5 separate regions of the Homo sapiens genome follow, and all the other regions are linked to region 3. The links are contacts of gene promoters, found by promoter capture Hi-C in blood cells and fetal thymus (Javierre and others, 2016). All regions are on one chromosome and are shown on one strand. The core of a region is centred on a gene start or on the middle of the fragment in contact, and the rest is flanking DNA. Distances in the headings are between cores, read along the strand shown. Region 1 overlaps INTS3 (integrator complex subunit 3). Region 2 overlaps INTS3 (integrator complex subunit 3). Region 3 holds the start of RAB13 (RAB13, member RAS oncogene family). Region 4 holds the start of SLC27A3 (solute carrier family 27 member 3). Region 5 overlaps GATAD2B (GATA zinc finger domain containing 2B).

The links. The method cuts DNA at HindIII sites, captures the fragments that hold promoters and counts their contacts. A CHiCAGO score of 5 or more calls a contact.
Region 1: a contact is called between a fragment that was not itself captured here and the fragment with the promoter of RAB13 in region 3, in 17 of 17 cell types (neutrophils, total CD8 T cells, non-activated CD4 T cells and 14 more). The highest score is 10.6, in neutrophils.
Region 2: a contact is called between a fragment that was not itself captured here and the fragment with the promoter of RAB13 in region 3, in 15 of 17 cell types (total B cells, M0 macrophages, naive CD8 T cells and 12 more). The highest score is 13.2, in total B cells.
Region 4: a contact is called between the fragment with the promoter of SLC27A3 here and the fragment with the promoter of RAB13 in region 3, in 17 of 17 cell types (neutrophils, M2 macrophages, naive CD8 T cells and 14 more). The highest score is 24.6, in neutrophils.
Region 5: a fragment that was not itself captured here is called in contact with the fragment with the promoter of RAB13 in region 3 in 16 of 17 cell types (total B cells, naive B cells, monocytes and 13 more); the score reaches 16.8 in total B cells.

Annotation. Positions count from the first base shown.
Region 1 is chr1:153,757,866-153,760,565 of GRCh38, reverse strand. It overlaps INTS3 (integrator complex subunit 3), which reads right to left. Exons shown (of 30, transcript NM_023015.5): 11 at 953-1,040; 12 at 176-255. Among named protein-coding and RNA genes, the nearest start is that of SLC27A3, 16 kb to the left of the region's middle. The HindIII fragment of the contact is 8,511 bases long and covers 1-2,700 here.
Region 2 is chr1:153,739,032-153,741,731 of GRCh38, reverse strand. INTS3 (integrator complex subunit 3) reads right to left here. Exons shown (of 30, transcript NM_023015.5): 2 at 998-1,081; 3 at 364-447. Among named protein-coding and RNA genes, the nearest start is that of INTS3, 12 kb to the right of the region's middle. The HindIII fragment of the contact is 7,056 bases long and covers 1-2,700 here.
Region 3 is chr1:153,984,975-153,987,674 of GRCh38, reverse strand. It overlaps RAB13 (RAB13, member RAS oncogene family), which reads left to right and starts at 1,336. Exons shown (of 8, transcript NM_002870.5): 1 at 1,336-1,562. The coding sequence starts at 1,439. RefSeq lists a silencer at 1,252-1,421 and enhancers at 1,233-1,734, 2,048-2,277. The HindIII fragment of the contact is 17,219 bases long and covers 1-2,700 here.
Region 4 is chr1:153,774,043-153,776,742 of GRCh38, reverse strand. It overlaps SLC27A3 (solute carrier family 27 member 3), which reads right to left and starts at 1,336. Exons shown (of 10, transcript NM_024330.4): 1 at 579-1,336; 2 at 16-225. The coding sequence starts at 1,245. INTS3 (integrator complex subunit 3) reads right to left here. Exons shown (of 30, transcript NM_023015.5): 30 at 1,935-2,700. RefSeq lists a silencer at 709-900 and an enhancer at 269-935. The HindIII fragment of the contact is 7,576 bases long and covers 1-2,700 here.
Region 5 is chr1:153,852,014-153,854,713 of GRCh38, reverse strand. The region is part of intron 1 of GATAD2B (GATA zinc finger domain containing 2B); the gene reads left to right. It also overlaps the pseudogene LOC645965. Among named protein-coding and RNA genes, the nearest start is that of GATAD2B, 70 kb to the left of the region's middle. The HindIII fragment of the contact is 670 bases long and covers 1,110-1,779 here.

The DNA of each region.
Region 1 (2,700 bases), core at 83-2,582, 230 kb after region 3:
GTGCAGACAGTGGAATATGGAAGGGAAGCATTTATTAACTTGGGGGATAGGACCCATGACCATTTCTGCTCTCAGTCAAGGCATACCGAGAAGACCCGTTCACTGGGAGATTAGGGGAGATACACTGAATTCTGCTCATCCAGGCATGGGGAGAAAAGAGAGCTCTAACACTTACGCGGCACATGAAGTCCAGGAGTGTGGCAGTGATGGCTGGGTGGGGCTTCATGGAGTGGTGCATGACCAGGATGGCTGGTTCTGGAGGATGTGAAATTAAAGAGCCCCTCACATCAGTCAGTCTCTCTCTCTCTTTTTTTTTTTTTTTTTTTTTTTTTTGAAACAGAGTCTTGCTCTGTCACCCAGGCTGGAGTGCAAATGGTACGATCTCAGCTCACTGAAGCCTCTGCCTCCCAGGTTCAAGCGAATCTCATGCCTCAACCTCCCCAGCAGCTGGAATTACAGGTGTGCGCCACCACGCCAGGCTAAAGTCAGTCTGTTTCTATCTCCATAAAATGGGATGTCAATATACATGAATGGCTCTGGGAAGTGCTATGTCTATTCCCCCCATTTCCACTGAGCAGACCCAAGAGCAGACAGGCCCCGAAACAGCTTGTAGCCCTCATTTCCCTTCTTGTTCCCAGCATTCAGCTTTGAGAAGGGAAGTAATAGGTGAGGAGAAGCAGGACATGGTACAGCCTTTTCCTTTGCCCATGCCCTCCCCTCCTGAAGACCATGCATCCTGAAGACTGTGGGGAGGAGGTACAGTGATGGCTTAGCCTTATCAAAGCAATTCTCTTTCTAGGTCAAGGGAAAACTGATGAGGAACAACAGAGCTGCTCCCAGATAAACTGCCTCCACTCCACGGTGCCCTGAGATTTATGACTGCTATCACTAAGGAAGGCAGTGGGGGCTTAGGGGGATGGGGAAGTGGAGCCGCCTGGTCTTGGTCACATACCTATGTTCATAATGCTATCCTTGTCTGGACTAAAGAACAGCCAGTCATAAAACAAAGCCAGCTTGGCATTGGAGGCAGCGACATTTGACTGGAAAAGAGAGGGGAGAAACAGAGGGCTAGTTTCATCAATCACCCCCCTCCATTTCAGAGTCCCAAGACAGATTCCAGGCCCCACTTGGCTGTTTCATCTATGAAATTCAGTTCCTAGTGAAACACGGTGAAATGCTAACCCCCCTTGTGTTGTGTATGAGTGAATACTCTGTGGTCTTATGGTCTTAACCAAGAGGACAGAGGACAGGGATTGGGCCAGGTACCCCCCGAACCTTTTTTTTTTTTTTTCCAGACAGGGTCTTGCTCTGTTGCCCAGGCTGTAGTGCAGTGGCATGATCTCAGCTCACTGCAACCTCCACCGCCCAGGCTCGAGAGAGCCTCTCACCTCAGCCTGGGACTACAGGCACGCACCACCTCACCTGGCTCATTTTTCTATTTTTTTGTAGAGATGAGGGTCTTGCCATGTCACCCAGGCTGGAGCGCAGTGGCATGATCACGGCTTACTCCAGCCTTGACCTCTTAGGCTCGGGTGATCCTCCCAGCCTCAGCCTCCTTGGTAGCTGGGACTACAGGAGCACACCACCATGCGTGGCTTTATGTTTTGTTTTGTTTTGTTTTGGTAGAGATGGGTTTTGCCATGTTGCCCAGGCTGGTCTTGAACTCCTGGGCTCAAGTGATCCTCCCACCTCAGCCTCCCAAAGTATTGGGATTATAGGTGAGAGCCACCATGCCTGGCCAGGCCTGGGTTCTTTTCTTTTTGTTGTTGAGACAGGGTCTGACTCTGTCACCCAGGCTGGAGTGCAGTGGCAGGATCTCAGCTCACTGCAACCTCTACCTCCCAGGCTCAAGCGGTCCTCTCACCTCAGCCTGGGACTACAGCCGCACACCAACACACTTGGCTAATTTTTGTATTTTTTTGTAGAGATGGGGTCTTGCCATGTTGCCCAGGCTGGTCTCAAACTCCTGAGCTCAAGCAATCTGCCCACCTCAACCTCCCAAAGTGCTGGGATTACAGGCGTGAGCCACCGTGCTCGGCAGGCCTGGGTTCTTGATACATCCAGCAGTTCATATCTCTGATTCCCATAGGGGACAATGCTTGGACTCAGAAGTCCACTCATCACCCCTGAGCTGAGGCAACAGTCAGACTAGCACCCCTTGGCTGCCCTTTCTGGGCTCTCCAGGCACATTCCTGAAGAAGAGACCCCCACCCCTCCAGGAATAGCCTGTTGTCATATCTGAATCAGCACATTCCAAGGACCCAGTCAAATGGGGGAGGAGGAACCCTGTTGGAAGAGGTCAGGGGGCAGCCAGATGCCAGAGAATGGATAGTTTCCCACCCTAGGCACAGAGAGGAAAACATTTGAAAGGAAATGCCTCCACTGCAGATTCGCTGCATTTACAGAAGGGAAGTAGACAAAGCTGATGCCAAAAAGGCATGGTGGTGAGGGTCTAAAGAATGCAAGCTCTGAATCTGAGAAAGAAACAGTTAAGAGGAATAGCTGTATATGGTTTCTGGAAGCAAAAATGAAAAAGGCAGGGACGCTCCAGAAACCCAGGCTTTTGGGGGTTGGCAGTAATGGGGGAGATGAACCTGTTCAATCTCAAACCCAGATGGAAAATAATGAGTGTAAGTAAATTTCTAGAGACACAAAGGGAAGTGAAGGCTGAGACACTCTGGAAGACCAGAGTGAAAGAAG
Region 2 (2,700 bases), core at 111-2,610, 250 kb after region 3:
CTGCAAACTACAGGCCATGCTCTTCTGGATAAGAACTCTCATGGACTTGGTTACAATTGTTCTCTTCTATTCCCTGGATTTAATCCCAACCCTTTTAGCCTTGCCTCATAAATTTAAAATTTAAAACTCTGTTTTTTCACTTTCATGACTGCCATTTAGCTTCAGAATCTGGAGATAGAGAAAGGACTTTAGTCAGAGGATGACCAATTCACTGAGTAAAAAGGGACTTGTAACTATATTTGGAGAACAAGGTGATCCAGCTCTGGTCGAAGAGTTTCATACTACCCCAGTTAAACTGTAAGTTCCACCATATCCCAGATCATATATGAGGAGGGTTTATGGGTCCAGAGCAGGGTGCCTTACCTTCTGGGCTTGGGCAGGTTCAGTGAGGATGAGAGTAAACAGGCCCAGGCAGATTTCTTCATGCTGGGGGAGGCCTTTGCACACCTGGAATGTGAGAAAGGAAAACAAACTAGTTGTCACTCACAGGCAGTAAGTTCTCAAACTCAGTTTCTCCCAGAAAACATGGGACTCCTAAGGAAGATGCAAAGGAGAATAATCAACTTTTAAATCTGATGATTTCCTTCTCTTAAAAGAGATTTTTAAAAAAAGAAGAGAGATAAGGACGACAGGTGTGGTGGTGCACACCTGTAGTCCCAACTACTCCAGAGGCTGAAGCAGAAGGATCGCTTGAGCCCAGAAGTTCAAGGCTATAGTGCACTATAATCATGCCTGTGAACAATCACTGCATTCCAGCCTGGGCAACATAGCGAGACCACATTGCTATAAAAATAAAAAGCTGTACTGAAAGATGCCCAAGGCTCCAAGAGATAGGCTCCCACAGTAAAAGAGAAGAATTGAGAAATTTGATTCAGGGAGCCAAGACTTGATGAATTTCAGTCCCCTACCCCCAACCACTTAGTCTTTCCATCTTTTTGACCATGTTTCAAGACCTTCACAGCAGCAGCAGTGGCTGCAGGGACAGCATTCTACTTACATACGCATTGAGGGCATCATTGGCTTCTCTCTCCGAGACACCAGCAGTCATCGATGTCACAATGCTCATACACCTTTCCAATCTCTGGGAAGGGGTGAGAAAAAATGAACAGTGTGTCATAACACCACTTAGGAAGTACTTCTGGGCCCCTAAAAGTTTAACAATTCAAACCTGATCATGCCCATTGATCTAGCTGCCAGTTTACTTATAAAGTCACCATGAGGATAAAACCAGCAAAATCTAAAATGTGGAAACCATAAACAGGTGACCTGATTTCTTTAACACATAAATCGCAAGAAAAAAAGTGAGGGAAACCCATATATTAAGAGACTTAGGGCCAGGCGTGGTGGCTCATGCCTCTAATCCTAGCACTTTAGGAGGCCGAGGTGGGCAGATCACCTGAGGTCAGGAGTTCAAGACCAGCCTGGCCAACACGGTGAAACCCCGTCTCTACTGAAAATGCAAAAATTAGCCAGGCGCAGTGGCACATACCTGTAATCCCAGCTACCTGGGAGGCTGAGGCAGGAGAATCTCTGGAACCCGGGAGGCAGAGGCAGCAGTGAGCAGAGATCGCGCCATTGCACTCCAGCCTGGGTGACAGAGCGAGACCCTGTCTCAAAAAAATAAAATAAAATAGGGCGGGCACGGTGGCTCACACCTGTAATCCCAGCACTTTGGGAGGCCGAGGCAGGTGGATCACAAGGTCAGGAGTTTAAGACCAGCCTGACCAACATGTGAAACTCCGTCTCTACTAAAAATACAAAAAATTAGCCGGGCATGGTGGTGTGCGCCTGTAATCCCAGCTACTCAGGAGGAGGAGACTGAGGCAGGAGAATTGCTTGAACCCGGGAGGCAGAGGTTGCAGTGAGCAGACATCATGCCACTGCACTCCAGCCTGGGCGACAGAGCGAGACTCTGTCTCAAAAAAATATATTTTAATAAAGAAAATAAAATAAAAGGGACTTAGGCCAGATGCAGTGGCTCACGCCTGTAATCCCAGCACTTTGGGAGGCTGAGGTGGGCAGATCACCCGAGGTCAGGAGTTCGAGACCAGCCTGGCCAATATGGTGAAACCCTGTCTCTACTAAAAATACAAAAATTAGCTGGGTGCGGTGGTTCACACCTGTAATCCCAGCACTTTGGGAGGCCGAGGGGGTTGGATCACCAGAGGTGGGGAGTTCGAGACCAGCCTGACGAACATGGAGAAACCCCGTCTCTACAAAAATTAGCCTGGCATGGTGGCACATGTCTGTAATTCCAGCTACTCGGGAGGCTGAGGCAGGAGAATTGCTTAAACCCAGGAGGCAGAGGTCGAGGTGAGCCGAGATTGCATCATTGCACTCCAGCCTGGGCAACAAGAGTGAAACTCCGGCCGGGCGCGGTGGCTCACGCCTGTAATCCCAGCACTTTGGGAGGCCGAGGCGGGTGGATCACGAGGTCAAGAGATCAAGACTATCCTAGCCAACATGGTGAAAAAACCCTGTCTCTACTAAAAATACAAAAATTAGCTGGGCATTGTGGCACACGCCTGTAGTCCCAGCTACTCGAGAGCCTGAGGCAGGAGAATCACTTGAACCCGGCAGGTGGCAGTTGCCGTGAACCGAGATCATGCCACTTCACTCCAGCCTGGGCGACAGAGTGAGACTCCGTCTCAAAAAAAACAAGAAAAAAAAATTAGCCAGGCGTGGTGGCAGGCGCCTATA
Region 3 (2,700 bases), core at 87-2,586:
AGCCACCGCAACAGGTCTTAGATAATATTTTCTTTCTTTCGTGTTTCGTATTTTTTTCCACCCCCAGCACACATATAGCAAGAATAATTTTTTTCTAAAGGCAGAGATAAACTTGTTTCTCTTTTACTCTCTTTCTTTCTTTCTTTTTTTTTTTTTTTTGAGACGGAGTCTGGCTCTGTCGCCCAAGCTGGAGTGCAGTGGCGCAATCTCGGCTCACTGCAAGCTCTGCCTCCCGGGTTCACGCCATTCTCCTGCCTCAGCCTCCCAAGTGGCTAGGACTACAGTCGCCTGCCACCACGCCCGGCTAATTTTGTGTGTGTGTGTGTATTTTTAGTAGAGATGGGGTTTCACCATGTTAGCCAGGATGGTCTCGATCTCCTGACCTCGTGATCCGCCCGCCTCGGCCTCCCAAAGTGCTGGGATTACAGGCGTGAGCCACCGCGCCCGGCAAACTTGTTTCTTTATACCCGTGCTGTTCATATTTCAGCTTCCTGGTTACCAAGGCTACACATTCATGGCCTATTGAGTGAGATTTCAGGAGTACTGCACCTTAAGTGGGCCATATTAAAAGATTCACGTAAAGAATGACATTTTTAGTTCAAATCTCTGTTTTCCTAAGCTATTTGGTCAGAGAAATCACACATGGGTCCCCATAAGAGAGATCGTTCCAACTGAAGCCCCAGGATGTGTCTAGGTAGGCTGTGTGTGTTGGGGTGGTGGGGCCGATTCTGTATAACTAATTTACGTTTTCACCCTGTTCCACCAGGGGGCAGACTGACTCAACAAATAACCTACTTCTGCGCATCCCGCTTTTTTCAAAGTGAATTGGGACCCATAGAACTAAGGGCTTGGACAACTAACAGTAAAATTCTAGGACTGCCTTTTACTCAGCCCCAGAAACCGATGATAACTCATCTTCTAGCTTCGTTGAATAGCATCTCCAAAACTCAGCCCCATTTTTTTTTTTCAATTTCTAGTGCTCTCCCTACCTTCACCCTTATTCCCAAAACTCTTGGTTCTCTTCCCCTAATCCCTCTAAAATTTCTCTTCTAAAATTTCTGGTCGTCGTGGTTAAACCTCTACTTCCCTTCACCCCAGCCTCTCTGGCCTCAGAATGGAAGAGTAAGGTCCTAAGAGGGGAGCTACAATTACCGAAAGGCTGTGGAAAATAGCGAGAGAGACAGGCCGGCCTAAGCTAGGAAGGGAAAACCGAGAGAACAGAGGCCGGGCTGGCAGCCTTGGCCTGCTCAAAAGGGTGGGCGGGCAGGGGGTGGAGCCCGGAGGGGTGCCGCCTCTCCTCTTTCCCGGAGCCTGGGCGGAGAGGGAGGAAAACTTCTTCCTGGCCTGGGCTCCGTGCCGCTCTGTTTGCCAACCGTCCAGTCCCGCCTACCAGTGCCGGGCGCTCCCCACCCCTCCCCCGGCTCCCCCGGTGTCCGCCATGGCCAAAGCCTACGACCACCTCTTCAAGTTGCTGCTGATCGGGGACTCGGGGGTGGGCAAGACTTGTCTGATCATTCGCTTTGCAGAGGACAACTTCAACAACACTTACATCTCCACCATCGGTGAGCCCGCTGGCCATGTCCCAGACCCCGACTCTCCTGTGACCTCCTTCTCCGGCTCCCGGATTACTAGTGACCCCACTTTTCAGTCCCCTTAGAGTAAGGCTCCTAAATTCTAGTCCCTCAACCCCTGGCTCTGACCCTTCCCCCGTGCATGTCTCTGTATAGTAACCAAACCTCTCACCTCTCTGAGGCCTTCAGGTAACTCTTCAACTGCTGCCAGCTCCTCATTTTCTTGGTACCATCGCCTTAGTCTCCCCAAATCCACAAGAACTCTTCTCTATTTTTCTCTGTTCCCCTCTTCCCCTACCCCCACCACCTAGAACTCTCTCGATCCTATCTCCATGTTTCCTGTATCCCTGTCCGCCACATCTTTTTCTCCCGATCCGATGCTAGCCTCTTTCTGTCTTGCTGAGCTTCAAACTCTCCCACTGTGTCCCCACCTCACCATCTACTTCCCAGGTTCCCTGCCCCAGTCTCCCTGCACCTCAGCTGAACAAGGGTTTGGGAAGGGTGGAACAAGGTGGCTGGGTGTGCTGGAGGGTGGCCCAAGGACTGTGATCATGAATATGCAGCCAGCTTGGTGAGGAACGTGGAAATGAGGGGACTTTTGGGGTCTCTGAGTCAGCCTGGTGACTCATCCTCCTCCCAGGGGCCCCCAGCAGGCTTGGGGGAGGTGCCCAAGTTTCTACTAAGAAGAACATTGTCTCCCCTCCTCCCTTCTCTTCTTTCTTCATCTCCTCTGGCTTGGGAAATAGACAGGAAGAGTCTCACGACAATTCTGGTTACAAAGGAAAAGGAAAAATGCCCCTCTTTCCTAATTGTCTCAAAAGTAATCCTGTTTAGCCTCAGACTTTCCTAGTGCCAAGTTTGGCCCACTAGTTAATTCACATAGACTGGCTTCAGCTACTTTTTTCCTTACTCTCTACTAGGAGGGTAGGTGGGATACCAAGAGTAGAGGGCTCTAAGAAAACAGAGAAGAGGAATGTGAAAGTAATATCTGGGGGGAGACAGAGACTGAATTCAGAGAGTTGTCAGCTGGTATAACTGAATGGACCCAAGAGGCAGCCTAAGGATTTTAAGCCTCCATGCAGAATTTTCGTCACCTTTTCCCTCCCAAAATCCATAAAATGTACGTAAA
Region 4 (2,700 bases), core at 87-2,586, 210 kb after region 3:
GTGCCCGGCCCTCACCCGTGGTGCCAGAGGTGAAGATGTACAGGCACGTGTCTGTTATGCTCTGGGGGGAAGAGAGGTATCCTGGCACTGGCCCATCCACTTCAGCGGACACTTCAGCCAGCAAATCGCTAATTCCAGCAGGGTGGGTTCCTGGGCCTGCAGCCCACAGGTGGAGCCCCATGGCTCTCAGGGCGGGCAGGTCCGGCTCCAGGGACTCCAGAAACTCTAGAAGGGTGGGAAAGCACAACGCCGGGGCCCTGGCTCTACCTAGAAGAGCCTATGACCCATGTCCCCTCCCTATCCCAGCCCACACTGCTCTTGGATGAGGGTGAAGGGTATGGACATTCCATCTTGGGTCTGAGGCCTGGAACTCGACTCCTTGGGGATCCTTGGGGCACCAAAGATTCAGCCTCATCCCTTCTCAAACCCGGAGACTCCTATCTCCACCCACTTTCGAACCCCAAGGGATAGTCGGCTTCTTCCCAGGCCCAGGGATGAGACCAAGCCTTTCTGTGGTCTCCGACACGCCCCCTTCTGTGGCTGGCCCCGCCTTAGTCAGTTCGGAGCTCCAGCCTTACCTGGCGCCAGCACCAGCGCGCGCGCGCCGCAGCTGCGGAGGCAGTGCAGCAGGGGGCCCCGGCGCAGGGCGGTGGGCACAAAGGCAGTGCGCAGGCCGGCCTTGGCCAGCCCGAACCAGAGCCACAGAAACTCTGGGCCAGCGGGGAGGAGCAGCGCCACAGTTGCTCCAGGTGACAGAGGGGCGGCGGCTCCTCCACCTCTGGCGGCACCGTCCCCTCCGGCAAACTCCGCGCCGCTTCCGGCCGCTGCATCTCCGGCTCCCGGCGCTGCCCGCTCGCCTTCTCCAGCGCTCCCCTCGCCGCTGTCGCCGCCGTCGGGTCCCCAGTCCCAGCCTAGCGCACGTAGGAAGGCGCGTGCAGCCCTGTTACTCTCGCGCTCCGCCTCTGAGTAGCTAAAGCGCCGCGAGCCGTGAATGAGAAAGGTGTGCGCGGCGCGCTGCTGGGCCAGTTCCGCGAGGCGCCAGGCCAGGCTGCAGCCCCCCTCGGGACCTTCCGGGTCGGCGGCAGCCGCGGCCAGGGCGCGAGCTCGAAGAGCCCTTTTGCAGCACAGAGCTCGCACCGCAAAGGCCAAGTCCGCCGGAAGCCAGCGCAACTGCGGCCAGAGGTGTAGCTTCAGCAGCAGCAGCGGTAGCAACAGCAGCAGGGGCAGCAGCAGGAGGGCAGCCATGGAGCCCGCTTCCTCTATCGGCACCGTCTGGTTCCAGCCGCTCGCAAACATCCCTGATCCTCCCTTCCGAAAACCTAGGGCCGCTCGTTCTAGCTGAGACTTCTCCTTCCAGGGAGCGCGCGTGCGCTGGCACACGCCCATTCCCACCCAGGCCCCCACCACTCCACACGGGCGGAGAGCAGAAACCCGGGAGGAGTGCGGGTGTGGGGCGGCCCCGGACTCCCAGCCCTCCCCCCACAGCCTACGCTCCGCCCTAGGCGCGCTCCCTCCCGGACTGCTCGCGGCTCGCACCCTACCAGGTCCTGGGCGGTGCTCGCGCCTTCCCTGAATCCCAGGGTTATGTCTGTCTTCTAAGTTGTTTCTCGGCTTGGGCGGTTTAGGCATCTGGCTAAGCCCTAGAGTCCAGGCCTGAGAGCCAGGGCGTTTGGATCGCAGTCCATCTTCCCCTCAATATTTCTCGTTTTCCCGTTAAGGGAAGGTACCATTGCTCTCTCCCAAAAGAATGAACTTGGCCCCTGGCCCATTTGGTTCTGCAAGTCCCGGCCTGCCAGCCGCAACCCCAGGGGATGGGTGGGGGCTGAGAGTTAAATAGGGGAAAGGTGGAAACCCAGACTGCCAGATTTCTGAGGGGTCACGACAGAGGCCCCTCCCTTTGGGCAAGGGTACAATAATTGGGGCCAGCCAGCAAATGCTCTCCATCCTGGTTTTAATTGGGACAGAGGAAACTGGGGAAGGAGAGAGGAAGGAAAAAGAAGCCTCCAGTGGTTTAGACTTTCAAAGGAAGCAACAGCAGTGATGAGGGAGGGGAGAACCTGGATTCTGTAAAAAGACAAATTTTCGGGGTGAAGAGGAGCAGCTCTGTGCAGTTCGCCCAAACTTCACTCCTCAGTCCACCTCCATTCTCCCTGGACAGCGGGGGAACAACAGCATAGCCAAGGAACTCTCCTCTGCTGGTTCACATGGCCCAGCAAGTGGCCACACTGTGGAAGGAAGAGCATCTCTGTCCCTCCCTGGTATCCAGACTTTATCTCCAGGTACAGTTGTCCCTGGAGACCAAGCTGGAGCATCCCTCCCGTCAAGCAGCGAGTCCTCCGGCCATTCTTGGTAGGCACACAGACTTCAACTGGAGGATGACAGACCTTTTGGAAGCATCTTGTTTCTTGAGAAATGAGTAAGGACAGGCCTCATCCTACGGGGGATGGTTCTGCATAGACAGATCAGTGCCTGGCTCCCACCTCCAGTGGCAGCAGGAAGGATGGGTAGTGGCCAAAGCCAAGTCCCTTCTGCTCTAGACAAAAGTGGGGGCAGAACAGGAAGGGAAAGGGGGATGTTCTGCGGTTACAAGTAGGGGTGCCAATCAAATCAAGACCAAGCTATACATGCACGGGGCAAATGCCAGCAGACACTCCAGCACAAAAGACATTCTGGCTTGTTTTATTGTCATTTAAAAACAAC
Region 5 (2,700 bases), core at 195-2,694, 130 kb after region 3:
CAGACCAGCATATTTTATAATGGCAGTATAATAGACTATATAACCTAAAACACTTCTGCTATTTCATTACAAAACACCTAGTAATGCTGGATGAAATGTAACAACTATTTTTTAATTTTTAAACAAACTTTTAAAAATGTATAGCTAGTTGAGCCTGAAAGAATTAAGGAAAATTCTCAGGGACTGCAAATGAAAGAGGAACTGAAAATGAGCAGTATGCATGTTACTTAATGCTGTGGTATTTCTGGGTGCTTTGCCTAGTCTCAGTTACTGAAAGGCTTGGTTTTTGTTTGTTTGTTTGTTTGTTTTTTGAGACGGAGTCTTGCTCTGTCGCCCAGGCTGGAGTGCAGTGGCAAGATCTCGGCTCACTGCAAGCTCCACCTCCCGGGTTCACACCATTCTCCTCTCTCAGCCTCCCGAGTAGCTGGGACTACAGGTGCCCACCACCAAGCCCAGCTAATTTTTTTGTATTTTTAGTAGAGACGGGGTTTTACCATGTTAGCCAGGACGGTCTCGATCTCCTGACCTCACGATCCGCCCGTTTCAGCCTCCCAAAGTGCTGGGATTACAGGTGTGAGCCACCGTGCCTGGCCTAAAGGCTTCGTTTTAATGTCCATGAGCCTTAGGCCTGTATGGAACAGAGTTAGAAATGCAAATCTCTATATAAAGCAGGGAGCCTTGAAGGTTCATACTCAAGAGAAAGGAAGGGACCACAGAAAATTCCATCTACTAGTTTGAGGAAACAAGGAAACTTCTGTGTCTCAGCTTGGGCTCTGGCTGGGGGTAGATGGGAATGTCTCCTGAAAATTTATGTTTGGACTCAAGAATATACAATAAGGAAAGGATCAATAGGGCAAGGATAGTCCCTCCAACAAATGTTGTTGGGAAAAGTGGATATCCACAGCAAAATAATGAAATTATCTTGTACTGTACACAAAAATCAACCCAAAATGGATTAAAGAGTTAAACATAAGACCTGAAACTATAAAACTCATAAGAAGAAAACAGGGAAAAAGCATTATGACATTGGTCTTGGCAATGATTTCGTGGATATGACATCAAAAACACAGGCAACAAAAGCAAGTGGAACTGCATCAACCTAAAAAGCTTCTGCACAGCAAACAGCAGAATGGAAAGGCAATCTACAAAATGTGAGGAAATGTTTGTGAACCATATATTTGATAAGGGGTTAATCTCCAACATATGTAAGGAACTCATACAACTCAGTAGCAAAAAATATATGTATATTAAAAAATAGGCGCTTCACTGCCGTCCGTTGATTTATTTCTCCAGGAAGAAAAATGGCATCTGTTGCAGTTGATCCACAACTGAGTGTGATGACTCGGGTGGTCAACCTGCCCTTGATGAGCTCCACATATGACCCCATGTCCTCAGCCCATGTCAGTACAAAGGACCAGTGTCCTACTTGAAGTCTGTGTGTGAGATGGCAGGGAAGGGTGTGAAGACCATCACCTCGGTGGCCATGACCAGTGTGCTCTGCCCATCATCCAGAAGCTAGAGCTGCAAATTGCAGTTGCCAATATCCGTGTCTGTAAGGGGCTAGACAGGATTGAGGAGAGACTGCCTATTCTGAATCAGCCATCAACTCAGGTTGTTGCCAATGCCAAAGGTGCTGTGACTGGGGCAAAAGATGCTGTGACGACTACTGTGACTGGGGCCAAGGATTCATCACAGGGTTGATGGACAAGACCAAAGGGGTAGTGACTGGCACTGTGGAGAAGACCCAAGTCTGTGTCAGTGGCAGCATTAACACAAGCTTAGGAAGTCAGATAATGCAGCTCATGAGCAGTGGCTTGGAACATGCGCTCACCAAATCAGAGCTCTTGGTAGGACAGTACCTCCCTCTCACTGGGGAAGAACTAGAAAAAGAAGCAAAAAAAGTTGAAGGATATGATATGGTTCAGAAGCCAAGTTGTTATGTTAGACTGGGATCCCTGTCTACCAAGCTTCACTCCCTGTCTACCAAGCTTCACTTCGTATGAGCAGGCTCTCAGCAGGGTTAAAGAAGCTAAGCAAAAAAGCCAAGAGACCATTTCTCAGCTCCGTTCTTCTGTTCACTTGATTGAATTTGCCAGGAAGAGTGTGCATAGTGCCAATCAGAAAATTCAGGATGCTCAGGATAAGCTCTAGCTCTCATGGGTGGAGTGGAAAAGGAATATTGGATACGATGATACTGATGAGTCCCACTGTGCAGAGCACATCGAGTCACGTACTCTTGCTATTGCCTGCAACCTGACTTAGCAGCTCCAGACCACATGCCACGGCCTTCTGTCCAACATCCATGATGACCACAGAACATCCAAGGTCAGGCCAAGCATATGAGGGTGATGGCAGGCGACATCTACTCAGTGTTCTGCAATGCTGCCTCCTTTGAGGAAGTGTCTGACAGCCTCCACTTCTAGCAAGGGGCAGCTGCAGAAAATGAAGGAATCTTTAGATGACTTGATGGATTTCTTGTTAACAACATGCCCCTCAACTGGCTGGTAGGTCCCTTTCACCCTCAACTGACTGAGTCTCAGAATGCTTAGGACCAAAGTGCAGAGATGGACAAGAGCAGCCAGGAGGCCCAGCGATCTGAGCACAAAACTCATTAAACTTGCCCCTGTCACCAGTGAATGATGCGGCCAGCCAGTTAACACCTTTCGTTATGTTGAAATTAACCCTGCTAGGCAACCCTAA